Regions from separate parts of the Homo sapiens genome. Here all the other regions are linked to region 4. Evidence: promoter capture Hi-C in 16 types of primary human blood cells and fetal thymus (Javierre and others, 2016). All regions are on one chromosome and are shown on one strand. The core of a region is centred on a gene start or on the middle of the fragment in contact, and the rest is flanking DNA. Distances in the headings are between cores, read along the strand shown. Region 1 overlaps COL4A4 (collagen type IV alpha 4 chain). Region 2 overlaps COL4A3 (collagen type IV alpha 3 chain). Region 3 overlaps COL4A3 (collagen type IV alpha 3 chain). Region 4 holds the start of CCL20 (C-C motif chemokine ligand 20).

Region 1 (3,295 bases), core at 730-3,229, 670 kb after region 4:
GATTACAGGAATGAGCCACCGCAGCCAGCCTTTGAACTTTTCTATGTGACAAATATATGTTTAACAATATCTGAGATAAGGCAGATAGTGACTTTTCCTTTTTTCTCTTTGAAGAAGAGTAACATTAGTTTCCGAGAGCGTGAATGTATTCCCAGTGAATGTCGTTCGTACTTTGAATGTTTAATTGTCTGAAATATTGTGTTTATCTTTTAAAATGAATTTATACAATCTATTTTTGAGGTGCAGACCTCTATAATTTCACCCTCCTCTTTTAAATATTTATTGGGGAATGTTTACGTAGAATAACTTTGCAGAGGCTAAAATCACCTCTTGCTTTTTCCTTTTACTGATCCAAGTCAAACCTTGATATGTGACTATTCCTGTTTTTTTTTTTTTTTTTTTTTGAATCTACTAATCTATTTTAAAGTGATTCTTTCCTGAAACATAGTTTTGCTGCAAACATCTCAGTGATGTTTGGCAAAAATAAGCAAAGAAATAATAATAACAAACTTGCCCTTATTATCAAGCCATCTAATCAGCTGACCTTATTTTTTTTCCTCTAGTTGTTTTGATATTTCAGCGAACACATAGTAATGAAGCCCAACCTTAAATGAACCCAAGTATTCAATCTAGTTACTTTAAGTGCTTTCATGCTGTCCCGACCTGGGCCCGGGCATTTAATTTTTTTTTTAACCTTATCAGGGTGTTTAACTTAATATTTCTGCATTTATAGATAACAACATTACTCAAAACTCAAGAGGCATATATTTCTGAAACTTCAAATACATTTTTAAACTTAAACTATCTAATCGCTTGACTCTCGTCAAGCTTCAAATTCTTGTATGCTTTTAATGATCCATGAGAATATTGTTTACAAAGATGTCTTTTTAAAATTAATGCTTAAAGATATTTTCTTTTGGATTGTGTCTGAGCATATTTTTCTCCAAAAAATAAGCCTAAACTGTGCGAGTGAAAAGAAAAATAATATATGCTGATTAGACTCTTTTCCCTCCCATACACATATACCTGTTCATATATATGTATACGTACATGAATATTCACATATACACATATATATTCAATGCATTCACACATACATATGTATATATGTCTTCCATGGGACTATAAATATTAGTTTTATTGTTTTATGTTTTCCCATCATACAGTGGTCTAAAGGCTTGAGTTTACAGCCTTAAGTTTAAAAAGGTTGATCAATCATAAAATTGTATGGCCAATGTATAAATGTTGCAATGACAGCTAGGCCAGATCATGAGCCAGGCAAACCTTTTCTCTGATGCTTTCTTGATATTCTTATCCATGCCCTTGGGTCCTAGCACCTAGAGGTGATTTGTCCACTACACAGGGGCCTAAACCACCACTCCCTCCCCACTGGCAGGCCCAGCCTGGGAATGCACGCTCAGTGCTCATGTTCATTGCAGGTGCATCATGGTGATTGCTGTTAAGGGATCTGCCTATGGAAATAGTACTCTGGGACTATGCTTTTATATGGAAGTGGATGATGACTCTGGATATAGGTGATTAGGATTCATGAGAACAAGGAGCTGATTCTTCCTAAAGGGTGTGTGTGTGTGTGTGTGTGTGTGTGTGTGTGTGTGTGTGTGTGTGATGCTCTAAAGACAGTGTTGGAAAGTTTGCTAAAAGTGGGGAAAAGGTCCAAATTATTCAAGTTCAGGAGTTTCTGTTTGAGAAACACATTAGAGAAACCATCTTGGAGTCTCAGCAAATTGTAGGAACAACAATTTTAATTTTAAGCCCAAGGATGGGACAGAAGAATTGTCCTAGGAAGGACAGTTTGATGAGGGAGGAGATACACTGTAGCTGATCTTGAAGATAAAGCAAAACAGGCCCTGAAAAAAAAACAAGCTTTTCATTTAAACTAGACTCCACTGTCTATGCATGGATTGCCTAACCACATAGTTTACACTCTAAGACTGTTCACAACTTAATAAATTAAGTCTTACCGAAAGGGAGAAACTGCAGAAGATTCCAGTTAAAGCCAAACGACTTTAGAAGGATACTTATTTTCCTTCAGCATCCTCAGTTTGGAAGCTTCTTGCTCATATAATCAACCCTCCTTATTATTAAGCTACTGTGTAAGTTCTTCATCTTTTTATATGTCATGATTAGTCTTTTCTTCTCATGGAGTCAAAGGTAAACCAAGAGTGCTTGTTATAATGTATGTGTTATGCACGTAGTTAAACGATGAGTACTGGTATACTAAATAAGATGCTTCACTTTCCAGAGTGGAAAGAAATACATTGGTCCTTGTGGAGGAAGAGATTGCTCTGTTTGCCACTGTGTTCCTGAAAAGGGGTCTCGGGTAAGTGATGTAAAGACCAACATGGGCAGCATTCCTGAATTTTGAGAACTTGTGAATATTTAATATAAAGTAATCCCAGATTCTTGGCAAATTTTAGTCCTCGATAATGTTTATGTATTTCACAGCCGAAGTTTTTCACATTCTAATAGCAATCTCAACTATATTAGACAGTCCAGGCTTAGAAGATAGTCTAGGAAGCTGCGATTCACCCATTGTTTTATATGACACTAGTCTTGTGAATTGTCCTGTGGAGGAAGGGTCCTGGTGTGAAATGGTAACTACTGGGTCACCATCCTGAAATATGGCATTTTAAAGGCTCTGAGAGGTACTGAAGTTGGTAGAAAAAAATCCAAGTTTGTTTGGTCTTTCCAGACAGTTGACCACAGGACTCTTTCTTGGATTGTCGCTATTGAAACAAGTGGCACAGTGTTCTAATGAAGTGATAGCTATATTTTTTGTATGCTTGTTATGTGCCAGGCACTGTTCTATGAGTTCAAAATGCTTCTGCTCATTGACTTCTCGTAAGAACCTTCTTAGGATACCATGTTTGCAGTGCAGGAGACTGAAGCCCAAGAAAGTTAGTGTCTTGCTCAAGTCCACCCAGAACGTTTGCGTTGATGACCACGCTAGATTCTCTGTTCTGCAAAGCCAAGAACCTCTTTGGTTACTGTCTGTCAGGTCTCTTGAACATTTGTTAATGTCTCCCCCATGTTCTGACAGCAGCCCACTAATTCATTTGTGATAAAGTATTAGATCAAACAATTCTCTAATTACAATTACTCCCACAATCTCACAAGAAAGGAGTGTGGTATAGAAGTTTGGGACAATTTTTGAGTCAGATCAATGATTCTTTTGAAATGTGTCCTCATCCATTCTCGCTGCTGTAACAGAATACCATAGACTGGGTGGCTTACGAGAAATTTATTTCTCACAGTCCAGGAGGGTGGGAACCCC
Region 2 (3,038 bases), core at 281-2,780, 650 kb after region 4:
AACAAATTTATAAGAAAAAAACAAACAACCCCATCAAAAAGTGGGCAAAGGACATGAACAGACACTTCTCAAAAGAAGACATTTTTGCAGCCAAAAAACACATGAAAAAATGCTCACCATCACTGGCTATCATAGAAATGCGAATCAAAACCACAATGAGATACCATCTCTCACCAGTTAGAATGGCAATCATTAAAAAGTCAGGAAACAACAGGTGCTGGAGAGGATGTGGAGAAATAGGAACACTTTTACACTGTTGGTGGGACTGTAAACTAGTTCAACCATTGTGGAAGTCAGTGTGGCGATTCCTCAGGGATCTAGAACTAGAAATACCATTTGACCCAGCCATCCCATTACTGGGTATATACCCAAAGGATTATGAATCATGCTGCTATAAAGACACATGCACACGTATGTTTATTGCGGCACTATTCACAATAGCAAAGACTTGGAACCAACCCAAATATCCAACAACGATAGACTGGATTAAGAAAATGTGGCACATATACACCATGGAATACTATGCAGCCATAAAAAATGACGAGTTCATGTCCTTTGTAGGGACATGGATGAAACTGGAAATCATCATTCTCAGTAAACTATCGCAAGAACAAAAAACCAAACACCGCATATTCTCACTCATAGGTGGGAACTGAACAATGAGAACACATGGACACAGGAAGGGGAACATCACACTCTGGGGACTGTTGTGGGGTGGGGGGAGGCGGGAGGGATAGCTTTAGGAGATATACCTAATGCTAAATGACGAGTTAATGGGTGCAGCACACCAGCATGGCACATGTATACATATGTAACTAACCTGCACATTGTGCACATGTACCCTAAAACTTAAAGTATAATAATAATAAAATAAAAAAAAGAAAAAAAAGAAGGAAAGAATATACTATTTGATTGAAAATGTTGGGACGATTTGTCATCTACATGGAAAAAGATAAAAGTAGATCTCATAATTCAGAAAATAATTACAGGATTAAGAGATCTAACTGTAAAAGAGCTAAACTATGAAACTTTTTTTAAATGTAGGAGAACATTCCTATAATCCCAGGAAAGGAAAAAAAAATTTTGACAAGGTACAAAAGACAAAATGTCAAAACAAAATCAGTTTGAGATTATAGTGAAAACAGTATTATACATTAAGGCACCAATAACTCAAAGATAAACCAAAGATTGGAATAAAATATTTGCTATACACTTTAATGACAAAAGTTTTGTATCCAAATATATAAATAACTTCTAATTAATTAGCAACAAAAAGGCAAAGTTCACAATAGATAAACAGACAGAAAGTTGCACTATGCAGTTCACACTGAAGGAAATATAAAGGGCCAATTAAAAAAGAAAAAAGTTTACAAACTCACTGGTCAAAACAAGATCTCATTTCACACCATTAACATCTAAGCACACCAAGCTTTGCCAAAGACATAGGGAAACAGGCACTCTGGTACATTGTTGGTACAACCCTTTTGCAGATGAACTTGTCAATTCCTAATATATTTAAATTTGTTTTCTCTACGAACCACTTAGGAATTCAAATTCTAGTTGTCACAGTGGTGCATATACCAAAATATGCATTGCAACTTTATAAAATGAAAATATAAAGACAAGCTTACTTTGTTTAGGGAGATGGAAAAATGAATCATACTTTATATAACTAGATACTATGCAGCAGCTATTACTACAAATACATCATATCTATATGTACCAACATGGATAAAATCCAAAAACATAATATGGAGTGATAAAAAGCAAGCTCCAATAGATACGTGTAATGTGAAACTATTTATCACATATGAAAGACCACAAAACAATAATACTTATTTTTTACGGAGAACAGACACACACACACAAAACTGTGCAGGGAAATTACATACATAAACTTTTTGGGATGGAAGAGGGAGTAAAGAATGTGTGTATGACTTTCTGTATTCAGATTTTTTTTTTCCTAAAGGTAGAAATCTGAGAACAAACAAGTCAAAGTATATTAATACTTGCTTAATCTCAGGGATAGATAAGTTGGTGTCTGTTCCATTACTTTTTGTTTTCTAATTTAACTGAAAGTGCTTAAATTTGAAAATGAAGCCCGGTGAGAAGGCATCCTCCCCAAATGTAGGTGTTTTTCACGTTTTGACATTTGCTTCTCATATTGCTGCCCTGTCTGGAATGCTAAGGCAAGAAGAAGGATAAACCATGATATCTTAATGTGTGAACATCACCTTATCCAGAAATCAAAGAAGGGGCTTTCTATACCTCCACTCCCAGGTCTATTGCCTGAGACAACAACAAGGTGCCGCCCTATTTCAAGTGGGTGAGCTGGGCCCTGACAGCTATAAAACCTGGGGATGCGCTGGGCAGCCAGCCTGGAACTGGATGCCTGTGCAAAGTAGCAGAGGTATTTAATTCTCGGCACATCAGTCCAAATTGTGTGGGTGGACAGTTCCACCCCGTCTAAACAAACTTAGCATGTAGAGTCAACACCGCTGCTATTTCCCTGTTTTGAGAAATGCTAAAGTAAAACTGAATAAATTGGAGCGAAACACATCCTTAACTGGAGTAGAACAAAAATAATAAAATATAATGGCTCCAAAGTTACATTTAGCTCTCACTTATACATTGTTTGGCCCACACTATGTTTTTGTAAAGTTTTGGCTTAGTTGCTAATATTTAGAATTTGAGAAGTTTCTAATAAAAACTGGATTCCCAACTTCTCTCTTGAAGTGATGCTGGCACAATTGGGCTTGAATTCTAGCATGCTAACAACTAGGTTCTGAAGAGTCTCTCTTACCCCATTGCCTTACTCCTTACTTCACCTGCTGGCCCCACTGGGGTTTCAACTCTCATTTTACACATGAGAAAACTGAGGCTCAGAGTGGTCAACAGCCTTGCCCAACAGCAGAGTTTCTCTGTGAAGGGAGCCATGTTGGTGCACATTGCCCGATTATCAGTGAACGTTGTGATTCCTTTTTCTACAAGATGAAGGCACATTTCATTATTTTACTGGCATATTTTCTCTCTAACCC
Region 3 (2,700 bases), core at 13-2,512, 540 kb after region 4:
TCAGATTTGCTTCAGCCTCAAAGAATGTGTTTATGTAAAATTAAATGAGCGCTGGCAGCGAGCTGCAATTTTTTTTTTTTTCTAAAAGGGAAATTAATAGCCCAACATGCTGGTCTATTGAAAAGAGCCTATTCCAAAAAATTGATAATATGGAATTAAGTTTAAACGTTGGTGAATACTGATAGGATACTTATTTATTGGGTGGCTAGTTTCCACAGGAAGGCTATTGAACAAAACAGTAAGTTTTGATATGGGCAAGGCTGACATTGGTTTGTAAACCTGGACACTTTTCTTAACCTCTCTGATAAGTTCCTCATCTGTCGCGGGGGAAAGAATGCCTACCTAGCAGATAAGGACACGAGATAATATTCTGACCACAGTGGCAAACATTAAAAACATGTTTAGTGATAAGTGTTGTCCATATAGTCATTTATTTATAGAAAAAAATAGGTTTACAGTATGTGATGGGACAATTTTGGTAATAATATATTTTATGACAATGGAATCCTTTAGTAAAGATTCACACTTAGAAATCACAGAAGAGGCTGGGTGTGGTGGTTCACACCTGTAATCCCAGAACTTTGGGAGACCAAGGCGGGTGGATCACTTGAGGTCAGGAGTTCAAGACCAGCCTGGCCAACATAGTAAAACCCCGTCTCTACTAAAAATACAAAAATTAATCAGGCCTGGTGGTGTGCGCCTGTAATCCCAGCTACTCAGGAGGCTGAGGCACGAGATTCCCTTGAATCCAGGAGGTATAGGTTGCAGTGAGCCGAGATCACGCCACTGCACTGCAGCCTGGGTGGCAGAGCAAGACTCCATCTCAAACAACAACAACAACAACAACAACAACAGAGCATTTGGTGATGGATTAGAACAGGGCTAAATAAACTTTTGCTGTAAAGGGCCAGATAGTAAGAAATTTAGGCTTCGTGATTGAAATCTACCCAACTACTCAATTCTGCCATTGTAGCATAAAAGCAGCCAGAGACAGTACATACAGGAGTGCAGCTGTGTTCCAAGAAACTTTATTTATGGATACTCTAATTTGAATTTCATGTAATTTTCATGCATCACAAAATATCATTAAACATTTTTTTCAATCATTTGAAAATGTGAAAACCATTCTTAGCTTGAGGATCATACAAAATCAGGCAGTGGGCTGGTCTTGGACTGTGGTCCACCACCGTTTGCTAGTACCTGGATTAGAACAGCAGCCTCCTTCGGCCAGGCATGGTGGCTCATGCCTGTAATCCTAGCACTTTGGGAGGCCGAGGCAGGTGGATCACCTGAGGTCAGGAGTTCAAGACCAGCCTGGCCAACATGGTGAAACCCCATCTCTACTAAAAATATAAAAATTCGCCTGGCATGGTGGCAGGTGCCTGCAATCCCAGCTACTTGGGAGGATGAGACAGGAGAGTAACTTGAATTTGGGAGGCGGAGGTTGCAGTGAGCCAAGATTGCGCCATTGCTCTCCAGCCTGGGCGACAGAGCAAGATTCCATCTCAGACAAAAAAAAAAAAAGCAGCTCCAAAGTAAGGTGCAGATAAACATAAATATTTATTTGTTTATTTAATATATAGAGAAAGTCATAAAATAAGATTTACATACATGTGTGGACAGAAATGATGCATACATTTATAACATATAATGTAAGGTTGTGCACTCAAAAAGTTTTACTGATGAGGGAAGACACTACAAAATGATTTAGAGGTTTACTGGGTCTTACCCTTTAAAGTGATTTTTAAAATTTATTTATTTATTTATTTATTTATTTATTTATTTTTGAGACAGTATCTCAATCTGTTGCCCAGGCTGGAGTGCAGTAGCACGATCTTGGCTCACTGCAACCTCCACCTTCCAGGTTCAAGCGATTCTCCTACCTCAGCCTTCCAAGTAGCTGGGACTGTGGGTATGTGCCACCATGCTCAGCTAATTTTTGTATTTTTAGTAGAGATGGGGGTTCGCTATGTTGACCCGGCTGGTCTTGAACTCCTGACCTCAAGTGATCTGCCCACCTTGGCCTCCCAAAGTGCTGAGATTACAGGTGTGAGTCACTGTGCCCAGCCTAAGGTGATTTTAGAAGTAAAACATGACCATGTTGGCATTATTTGCTCAAAACTATCAGTAGCATGCTATTCTGACCTTCAGCCACACTCCTGAATCCAGAACTACGGCCAGTATATGTATATCCCAAAAGTTACCTGGACTTTTAAACTATTATCAGACCATTTTCCTTCATTTGTCTTAGATATTTTAAAGTTTTATTTGTAACCTGCCTATGGAGTTATGGATCAAAATCAACAAATTTGTGGCTGCGCACAGTGGCTCACGCCTGTAATCCTAGCACTTTGGGAGGCTGAAGCAAGGATTGTTTGGGGTTGGGAGTAGGAGACCAGCCTGGACAACACAGCAACATCCTGTCTCTACAAAAAATAAAAATAAAATATATATTAGCTGGTCGTGGTGACACGTGCCTGTAGCCCCAGCTACTCAGGAGACCAGGCAGGAGGATCTATTAAGCCCAGAAGTTTGAGGATGCAGTAAACTATAATTATGCCACTGCACTCCAGCCTGGGCAACACAGTGAGACCCTGTCTCTAGAAAACCACAAAAAACAAATTTGCAATAACGCTTAGGATCTATTCATTTCATATATATATATGTATGTATGTAATAGATATAGAATATTCTAGGAAA
Region 4 (3,188 bases), core at 366-2,865:
CTGCTAAAAAAAAAAAAAAGTGAAAGGTATTGGATCCACATGAATAAACTTATCCTGTGATTGGTATTATAAAACTACCTTAAGTTGTGAAAAATCTAGTGAATCTCATGTATATGACGAATAAACCACTTAGAGGAGGAGTTTCAATGTCTTGGAAACCTTTGTAAGGTCGTTGAGAACCAATCTAACATAGTTTACAGTTCTTTGAAAAAACAGTTTGTGTGCCGAGAAGTTTTGGTTCAATAATAGAATTGAGAAACACAGGACTTCTCATAAGTGGGATATCTTCAGTAAGAAATACAAATTGACAATATTTCATTTCAGTTCACTATAATCATTCAAGAATATGAGCAGCCCCTTCCCTACTGCTTGAAGGAACCCTTATGTAGATAAACTTCCAAAAGCAGAAAATGAATAAATTGGCAGATTTTAATCTATTATCTGGCTACTAAGTATTGAGAAATAGAGCTACAAAGGGAAATATGATTTATAGGAGTGAAAACACTTTGAAATTGTCCTATTAATTAATAGGAATGTTTAATTTTGTTCATAAAAGTTCAACATGTGGTTGGGCATGGTGGCTCATGCCTGTAATCCCAGCACTTTGGGAGGCCAAGGAGGAAGGATTGCTTGCCTCCAGGAGTTCGAGACCAGCCTGGGCAACACAGTGAAACCCTGTCTCTACAAAAAAAAAAAAAATGTAAAAAAATTAGCCAGGTGAGTGGCACACGGCCGTGGTCCCTGTTATTCAAGAGGCTGAGACTGGAGGTTCACTTGACTCCAGGAGGTTGAGGCTGTAGTGAGCTGTAATCATGCCACTGCACTCTGGCCTGGGTGATGAAGTTAGACCCTGCCTCAGAAAAAAAAAAAAATTCAATGTGCATTTTTAGGAATGCACCTGTTGCTAAAAGTGTTGTGTGACTATTGAGCAATAAAGCAATACTTGGACATTCCCGAGTCAGATTACAACATGCTGTAAGGTAAGGGATTAATGTTATTTTAAAGTTGGCAAGCAATGTCCCCCATGCCTTGTGGGGATGTTGATGTCAGGTATTATAATCTACTTCTAAAGGATGAGTTTTGAACTTTACCAAAACTATTAAGTTGGGAGGTACGAAAGTTGGGGACACAGGAGGATTCTCTACATTTCAAAATGGCCCCATCTACTGGTAACATTACACACTTTATATCACTCCCAGAAACATCACTTTGGCTTTATCCTGAAGTTTAGGGATCTCTAAGAGCCCACCACTCCCCAAATCTGCTGAGATTGACAGCAGAGAGGAAAGCCTGATCCGCAGCAGTAACTCTTCTCTCCTCCACTCCACCATGGGCAGACAACTTCCATCACTACCTCTTGTATACTTCCTAACAGTTTTCCATCCCTTAGGGACCCCCAGTTGAGCTCAAGGCTAAAAGGAAAATGAAAATAGTCTTTCTTCTGTGCTAGCGGAAAGAGCGACACTTACCTTCTGATTCGCCGCAGAGGTGGAGTAGCAGCACTGACATCAAAGCAGCCAGGAGCAAACTCTTGGTACAGCACATGGTTTTTAGCTCAAAGAACAGATCTGCTCAGTGTTGAGTACCCAGTTCTTTGGGAGTGCTGTTATATTCTGACAGCAGCCTGGGATGGCCCTATTTATAGCAAATATTGGGAATGTACACAGAAGGCGTGTTGCCACATGGGGTTTTCCCCATTGATCAACTGGCCCCATCATGTCATCATAAAAAAAACCCGCAAGGAAAACTTCCTGCTTTTTCCTCATATTGGGAAGGTGCGAAGGTCAGGGTGGGGGACAGGAAGTTGAGAAGGGGAGAATCCTGTTAAATTCTTTGTATTTGCAAAGAGCAAAAGCAGCTCAGCCCTGTGACCCAGAAAAGACTTTCATCCAGTTTTAACTTAATCATTTTTGTGTCTGAAAATAGAGGATTAACAGCGATACAAAGGTCAGCCCCACACAGGAACATTCCAGAACTCCTATTGTTACACCCTATTTGCTTTCCAGAACCAGTCAAGGAGGAGGGGGAGGAGGAGCAGGTGGGATGCCAGGCATACTCTGCTACACATTTACCATCACATGGTTGAGGTTCAGCTGTCATGAAGAAGACCCTGAGTTGCTAGACTAACATTCAGAGCAGGTACTATAACAGTGCTACAGTACTGTCCGCAGTTAGAGTGGAAAATATCAGCCTTTAAGTAAGGCTCAAACCTCAGCTTCACCTTGATTTAATGTCAACTCTTCTAAGAATCTTATACATTCACATGGCTTTAATCAATATTGCAGTTCAGAAAATAATCCTTACCTACCTTTAACTCTCCATGATGATGTACTAATATAACTCAATATAGAGCCTCAGAATTGTTGAGGAAAGAAAACCTATCAGCAGTAGCTAGTCAGCACAGCAAATGTCAAATAACAGTACTAATGATGATAATGTAATATGAATCCCTAACCTAAGGCAGTATAAGAACTCTCCACTAGACCCAAATAGGTTGAAAGTAAAAGGATCAAAAGAAAGGTATACCAAACAGTAAACAAAAGAGAACTGGAGTTGGTGATGCCTATATCAGACAAAATAGATTTTTTTTTAATGTTACCGGAAATAAAAAGGGACTTTCATGGTAACACAAAATTAACCCATTGGGAAGATGTAAAACCTATAACCATATATATACCTAACAGTAGCACCCCAAACTACAGAAAGCAAAAACTGACAGAATTGAAGGGAAGAATAGGAAATTTTATTTTATTTTATTATTATAATTTCTTTTGAGACAGAATTTTGCTCTTGTTGCCCAGGCTGGAGTGCAGTGGCACCATCTCGGCTCACTACAACCTCCGCCTCCTGGGTTCAAGCGATTCGCCTGCCTCAGCCTCCTGAGTAGCTGGGACTACAGGCACGTGCCACCACGCCCAGCGAATTTTTGTATTTTTAGTAGAGACGTGGTTTCACCATGTTGCCCAGGCTGAACTCCTGACCTCATTACAGGCATGAGCCACCGTGCCCAGCAGAATAGGAAATTTAACAATAAAAGTTGACAGCTTTGGTACCACATTTTCACTAATTAATAAAATTTAGGCAGAAGATCCACAAGAAAATAGAAGACTTGAACAACACTATAAGCCAAATAGACTTAGCAGGCATCGAAGGACTACTCTATCCAACATCAACAGAATAGTTGCACA

The links. Contacts are between HindIII fragments. The CHiCAGO score rates a contact against its expected background, and 5 or more counts as called.
Region 1: a fragment that was not itself captured here is called in contact with the fragment with the promoter of CCL20 in region 4 in 1 of 17 cell types (naive B cells); the score reaches 5.2 in naive B cells.
Region 2: a contact is called between a fragment that was not itself captured here and the fragment with the promoter of CCL20 in region 4, in 1 of 17 cell types (naive CD4 T cells). The highest score is 5.4, in naive CD4 T cells.
Region 3: a contact is called between a fragment that was not itself captured here and the fragment with the promoter of CCL20 in region 4, in 1 of 17 cell types (naive B cells). The highest score is 5.1, in naive B cells.

Annotation. Positions count from the first base shown.
Region 1 is chr2:227,139,207-227,142,501 of GRCh38, reverse strand. It overlaps COL4A4 (collagen type IV alpha 4 chain), which reads left to right. Exons shown (of 48, transcript NM_000092.5): 4 at 2,264-2,341. Among named protein-coding and RNA genes, the nearest start is that of COL4A4, 23 kb to the left of the region's middle. The HindIII fragment of the contact is 186 bases long and covers 1,887-2,072 here.
Region 2 is chr2:227,166,726-227,169,763 of GRCh38, reverse strand. All of the region lies in intron 1 of COL4A3 (collagen type IV alpha 3 chain), which reads right to left. Among named protein-coding and RNA genes, the nearest start is that of COL4A3, 3.6 kb to the right of the region's middle. The HindIII fragment of the contact is 197 bases long and covers 1,432-1,628 here.
Region 3 is chr2:227,273,324-227,276,023 of GRCh38, reverse strand. The region is part of intron 26 of COL4A3 (collagen type IV alpha 3 chain); the gene reads right to left. All of the region lies in intron 4 of MFF-DT (MFF divergent transcript), which reads left to right. Among named protein-coding and RNA genes, the nearest start is that of MFF-DT, 50 kb to the left of the region's middle. The HindIII fragment of the contact is 3,156 bases long and covers 1-2,700 here.
Region 4 is chr2:227,812,269-227,815,456 of GRCh38, reverse strand. CCL20 (C-C motif chemokine ligand 20) reads right to left here and starts at 1,615. Exons shown (of 4, transcript NM_004591.3): 1 at 1,470-1,615; 2 at 1-3. The coding sequence starts at 1,545. The HindIII fragment of the contact is 16,817 bases long and covers 1-3,188 here.